Linked DNA regions of Homo sapiens: region 2 is linked to region 1. The links are contacts of gene promoters, found by promoter capture Hi-C in blood cells and fetal thymus (Javierre and others, 2016). All regions are on one chromosome and are shown on one strand. Each heading gives the region's core, a stretch centred on a gene start or on the middle of the fragment in contact. The rest is flanking DNA. Distances are from core to core; before and after follow the strand shown.

Region 1 (3,122 bases), core at 221-2,720:
TCACTTTCTTACAAAACTAAACACACTCTGACCACAGCATCCAGCAATCTCACTCCTTAGAGTTTACCAAAATGAGTTGAGAACTTATGTCTACAGACACCTGCACATGAATATTTGTAGTAGCTTTATTCATAATTGCCCAAACCTGGGAGCAACCAAGATGTCTTTCCATAGGTGAATGGATAAATAAACCATGGTACATCCAGACAATGGAATACCATTCAGTGTTAAAAAATAAGTGAGCTGGCCATGCAAGGTGGCTCACGTCTGTAATCCCAGCACTGTGGGAGGCAGAGGCAGGCGGATCACTTGAGCCCAAGTGTTTGATACCAGTGTGGGCAACATGGTGAGGCCCTGTCTCACAAAAAATACAAAACTTATCGGGGTGTGCACCAGCACCTGTAGTCCCAGCTATTTGGGAGGCTGAGGTGAGAAAATCACAGGAGCCCAGGAGGTTGAGGCTGTAGTAGCTGTGATTTCACCAGTGCATTCCAGCCTGGGTGACAGAGCAAGACTCTGTCTCAAAAAAAAAAAAAAAAAAAAAAAGAAGTGAACTATCAAACCACAAAAGACATGGAAGAACCAAAGTGCGTATTACTAAAAAAGAAGTTGAAAAGGCTACATAATGTATGAGTCCAGCTCTGTGACATTTTGGAAAAGGCAAAATTAAGGAGACAGTCAAAAGATTCCTGGTTGCCAGGGGCTGGGAGAGGGAGTGATGAAAATGCAGAACACAGATGAATCGGGGCGGAGAAACCCGTCTGTACAATATTAGAGTGGTGGGTCTGCATGATTATACATGTGTCCAAACCTGCAGAATGCACAGCACCGGAGGAAAGCATAATGGAAACTGCAGAGGGCGATGATGATAATAACAACGTGTAACAAATGGCTGGGACGGGAGGACTGGGGAAGGCTGTGCACCTGCAGGAGCAGGGGAGCGGTGGGAGAGCTCCATGCTTTTGGCTCAATTTTGCTATGAACCTAAAACTGCTGTAAAAAATAGAGTCTACTGAAAAAACAAGTGTTAATTTATAAGCGTCTTGTTTAAAGAGCGAAGAGATGAACCACAAAGGGGAAAATGTGTTTAAACAATAACTAATTGACAATTGGCTGGTTCTTAAAATTCAGAGAACTTTAAGACAGAGACAGCAAAGCAGGGATCACGTTTTACAAACGCGGCAGGACCAGGACGTCGTGCCCACGACGGGCCAGCAACCACAGGCTGGATGCTCACCCTGTGCCAGCCTGCAGACGGAGAGCACCCACCCCAATCTCCAGCCCCCAGAGGAGCTGCCTCTCCAGGGCCTTCCTGCAGGTGCCCAGGGGCTGCACATGGCCCTCCTTGGAGGGAGCTGGTGACTCAGCACTTTCATTTCCTGGAAACTGAGGCTCATGGGAGATATGCAGATGAGCCCAGAGCACCATGGGAAATGGCCCTTTATATACCCAAATGGGCTCTGCCTCCTCCTTTCCCTGGGTGCCCACATGAACAGAGACACCAGGATGGTGAGATCTCCCGAGGAGGGGTCTCTGAGGAGGGGTCTCGGAGACACGGCCTGGTGCTGGGTGAGGGGTTGGGAGGCTGAAGCGGGGCCAGGATTCCTCAGGTTCCCTCAGTTTCCCTCAAATTTCCCTCAGTTTCCCTCAGGTTCCCTAAGGTTCTCCAAGTTCCCTCAAATTTCCCTCAGTTTCCCTCAGGTTCCCTCAGTTTCCCTCAAGTTTCCCTCAGTTTCCCTCAGGTTCCCTCAGTTTCCCTCAGGTTCCCTCAGTTTCCCTCAAGTTTCCCTCAGTTTCCCTCAGGTTCCCTCAGTTTCCCTCAAGTTTCCCTCAGGTTCCCCCAGTTTCCCTCAAGTTTCCCTCAGCTTCCCTCAGGTTCCCCCAGTTTCCCTCAGGTTCCCTCAGTTTCCCTCAAGTTTCCCTCAGTTTCCCCCAGTTTCCCTCAAATTTCCCTCAGTTTCCCTCAGGTTCCCTCAGTTTCCCCCAGCTTCCCTCAGGTTCCCTCAGTTTCCCTCAAGTTCCCCTCAGTTTCCCCCAGTTTCCCTCAGGTTCCCCCAGTTTCCCTCAAGTTCCCCTCAGGTTCCCCCAGTTTCCCTCAAGTTTCCCTCGGGTTCCCCCAGTTTCCCTCAGGTTCCCCCAGTTTCCCTCAGTTTCCCTCAAGTTTCCCTCAGGTTCCCCCAGTTTCCCTCAGGTTCCCTCAGTTTCCCTCAAGTTTCCCTCAGGTTCCCCCAGTTTCCCTCAGGTTCCCTCAGGTTCCCCCAGTTTCCCCCAGGTTCCCCCAGTTTCCCCCAGTTTCCCTCAAGTTTCCCTCAGGTTCCCCCAGTTTCCCTCAGGTTCCCTCAGTTTCCCTCAAGTTTCCCTCAGGTTCCCCCAGTTTCCCTCAGGTTCCCTCAGTTTCCCTCAGGTTCCCCCAGTTTCCCCCAGGTTCCCCCAGTTTCCCCCAGTTTCCCTCAAGTTTCCCTCAGGTTCCCCCAGTTTCCCTCAGGTTCCCTCAGGTTCCCCCAGTTTCCCCCAGTTTCCCTCAGGTTCCCCCAGTTTCCCTCAGGTTCCCTCAGTTTCCCTCAGGTTCCCCCAGTTTCCCTCAGTTTCCCCCAGTTTCCCTCAAGTTTCCCTCAGGTTCCCCCAGTTTCCCTCAGGTTCCCTCAGTTTCCCTCAGGTTCCCCCAGTTTCCCTCAGGTTCCCTCAAGTTTCCCTCAGGTTCCCCCAGTTTCCCTCAGGTTCCCTCAGGTTCCCTCAGTTTCCCTCAGGTTCCCCCAGTTTCCCTCAGTTTCCCCCAGTTTCCCTCAAGTTTCCCTCAGGTTCCCCCAGTTTCCCTCAGGTTCCCCCAGTTTCCCTCAGGTTCCCTCAGTTTCCCTCAGGTTCCCCCAGTTTCCCTCAGGTTCCCTCGGGTTCCCTCAAGTTTCCCTCAGGTTCCCCCAGTTTCCCTCAGGTTCCCTCAGTTTCCCTCAAGTTTCCCTCAGGTTCCCCCAGTTTCCCTCAGGTTCCCCCAGTTTCCCTCAAGTTTCCCTCAGGTTCCCCCAGTTTCCCTCAGGTTCCCCCAGTTTCCCTCAGGTTCCCTCAGTTTCCCCCAGTTTCCCTCAGGTTCCCCCAGTTTCCCTCAGGTTCCCTCAGTTTCCCCCAGT
Region 2 (3,122 bases), core at 288-2,787, 95 kb before region 1:
AACAAAAACCAAAACCTTGACAGTATCCACCAGGTGTCTGTGCATTTAACACAGAAGACCTGACCTACATTTTGGAATGGTCAGGGACATGGCAATGCGCTCGAAGCCCAAATGGGAGAAAAACCATTTCTGAAATCCTATTTGGTTTCCAGGATCCTAGAGAAGGTGCCATGGGCAGGAACATGAAGGTGCAGGCTTCTTTACTCTCTTAAGCCAGCGGCCACAGGGGAAGCAACTTTGCCTGCCAGGGGCCTTCAGCACTGTCTGAAGAAAGTTTTGAGTATCACAACTAGGGGCAGGGGTGCTGCCAACATCTACCATGCAGAGAACGCACCACTACAAATGGCACTAGTGCCGAGTGGAGAAGTCCTGTCCGGAACCACGTAGCACTTTTTGGTTCAGGGTTGGCTTCCCCAGTGACCATCCCGGGCTTCTAAGGACTGGCTTTCTTCCCTTTGCCCTTGTGTACCCCTGGCTTGCAAGTTCTCCTGGAGACATCTCTCGTAAAAACTTAAGGTGTTTTTAAGCTTGCAGGTTTTACTTGACCCCAGCACCAGGCTCCCGCAGGCCAAGGCCACACCCCGCACCACCCTGCTCTATTGGCTCGTCACACCTTCAAGGCAATGCAGGCTCCAGGCCCTTGAGAAGCCAGTCCACCACCAAGGGCCGCCAGACAGGCTCCCAGGGCGGAGTCTCTGCTGAGCTTTCCCTGGGTTGGTGATGGGATTTTTCATTCCTGTGGCCTCCTCTGGTCACGTGAGGCCCGTGATGGGACACACTGGGTGCCCCTCTCTGTAACGGGTTCCCCAGGACCACAGGTGCTGCCAAAGATATTTTGTGTCACATAAACTTAGAAACGTCGGTTTCTTGTAGTAGCACAGATTACGTGCTTGTGCTGAGAAAAGATGTCAAAGAATCAAATCAACAGTCCTCCCTTTCCCGTGACAAAAGGGCTAACAGAGGCCCTGAACAGGTTTTCCTTTGGCCAGTTGCCCAAGGGGACTCACCCAACCATCCACCTACAAATGTGCCGCGGAGCCTTCTCACTGGGAGGGCTCCACAGACGTGGCACAGCCACTCTTCAGACAAAAAGCTCTGTTCCCAAAGAGGGCTCCTGCCAGACCGAAGCTCTGCTGTTGAGACACACGCTTCATGGCTCTGAAATCCCCGCAGAGAATACCCTCCTGCTCCATCAGCCCAACTGTTTGAAAGTCCAGGGAACTCGCAAGAGCTGGACTCTGAGGGGAGGACAGGAGCGCTCTGCTCCACACCTGGCCCACCGTGGAACACCAGGTACCTAAGGCCCTGGGCTGAGGGCTCGCAGAACTGGGACAGTAACTGAGCTGGAAGAGGTCATGATGGTCGCCAAGTTCAAAACCCTTGTTTTGCTCGGAGAAAACGAGCCCAGAGAGTATGAAGGGACTTCCCCCAAGCTATAAGCAAAGCATGCGAAGGAGCAGAGGCCTCACTCAGGGATCACACATCAGGAAGGCCCCACTGAGCAACACACGTGCCACTGGCAACAGCTCCAGTGACCACTGAGGGGCACACGACACCACGGGGAGCATGCATTGAAATTCACACAAAATCTTTTTTTTTTTTTTTTTTGAGACGGAGTCTCGCTCTTTCATCCAGGCTGGACTGCAGTGGCGCTATCTGGGCTCACTGCAAGCTCTGCCTCCCGGGTTCACGCCATTCTCCTGCCTCAGCCTCCCAAGTAGCTGGGACTACAGGCGCCCGCCACCACGAACGGCTAACTTTTTTTGTATTTTTAGTAGAGACGGGGTTTCACTGTGTTAGCCAGGATGGTCTCGAGCTCCTGACCTCGTGATCCGCCTGCCTCGGCCTCCCAAAGTGCTGGGATTACAGGTGTGAGCCACTGCGTCTGGCCTATTCACACACACTCTTGATTTCAGAAACCATGACCCAATATGAAGCAAAATTTAAACAAAAGGACAAGATGGTATAAGATTTTTTTTTTTTTTGGGGGGGACAGGGTCTCACTCTGTCGCCCAGGCTGGAGTGCAGTGGCGTGATCTCGGCTCACCGCAACCTCTGCCTCCCAGACTCAGGCGATTCTCCTGCCTCAGCCTCCCAAACAGCTGGGATTACAGGTGCACGCCATCACACTTGGCTAATTTTTGTATTTTTAGTAGAGACGGGGTTTCACTACGTTGGCCAGGCTAGTCTCAAACTACTGACCTCAAATGATCCACCCATCTTGGCCTCCCAAAGTGCTGGGATTCCAGGCGTGAGCCACCATGCCCGGCCCATAAGATGTTTCTTTGTGTTGAGGGAGGGTCTCTGGACCCAAGACTCTCTGAAGGAAGCTGTGACTGCTTTGTCAGGGTGTGGAGAACACTTCCCTCCCTTTTGCCCAGAACCAGTTTTGGGTTTATTTTAACCAGCAATGCTGAGTTGCTGTTCTCCCTTGTCAAACAGAACCCTGGTGTTGCTCTGTGACTGGTAAAGACCTACCTCCTCCCTGCATCATCTTGTAGATTTTGCTCTCAATGTGGAGCTGAGGGTGTTTGGTTTTGACACATTCAAGCTTGATGGCAACCTCTTCTCCTGCAGCAATGTCCGTACCTTGGCAAAGAAAGAAAACCACAACAGGAATTACCTGGTATCCACCAAATAACCCAACATGCTGGAGAAACAACAAGCACTATGTGTTTTCCATGAAGGACCAAGTGAGGGATGTGTTCTCCTTCCTAGCATAGTAAGGCGGGCTAATCGGCTGACACATCTCTGGGGGAAGTTATCCATATTCCCATTTTCACAACAGGACGAATTTGAACTGCACAGAAAGTTTATGTGGCTTCCATCACCCGCCCACCAGTCTTCAGGTGCTGCAGCTCCCTCTCCACAGTGGCCCTTCTGGTCTGCATCCTCCCATCAGCCCTGCCCAAGGCCCCTGCACTTGCCCGCCCCAGACAGCCTGTGGTAGAGCTCCACGGTGCCATTCCCTTTTCTCCATGCTGCCTGATAGGCCTCCGAGGGGGTGGTTTGAGTTTCCCCCTGAGGAAGGGCTAGGTTTTTACCCAATAGCCACAGTCCCAGTCCACCCAGGCCTGGCATCACAGGCAGCGGGAGTCATCTCTAGCCAACCTATTGCAGGC

What was found. Contacts are between HindIII fragments. The CHiCAGO score rates a contact against its expected background, and 5 or more counts as called.
Region 2: a contact is called between a fragment that was not itself captured here and the fragment with the promoter of TEX19 in region 1, in 1 of 17 cell types (activated CD4 T cells). The highest score is 5.6, in activated CD4 T cells.

Annotation. Positions count from the first base shown.
Region 1 is chr17:82,357,777-82,360,898 of GRCh38, forward strand. It overlaps TEX19 (testis expressed 19), which reads left to right and starts at 1,471. Exons shown (of 2, transcript NM_207459.4): 1 at 1,471-1,509. RefSeq lists a silencer at 2,657-2,951. The HindIII fragment of the contact is 12,499 bases long and covers 1-3,122 here.
Region 2 is chr17:82,263,208-82,266,329 of GRCh38, forward strand. It overlaps CSNK1D (casein kinase 1 delta), which reads right to left. Exons shown (of 9, transcript NM_001893.6): 2 at 2,479-2,589. Among named protein-coding and RNA genes, the nearest start is that of CSNK1D, 8.9 kb to the right of the region's middle. RefSeq lists an enhancer at 2,478-3,122. The HindIII fragment of the contact is 2,024 bases long and covers 526-2,549 here.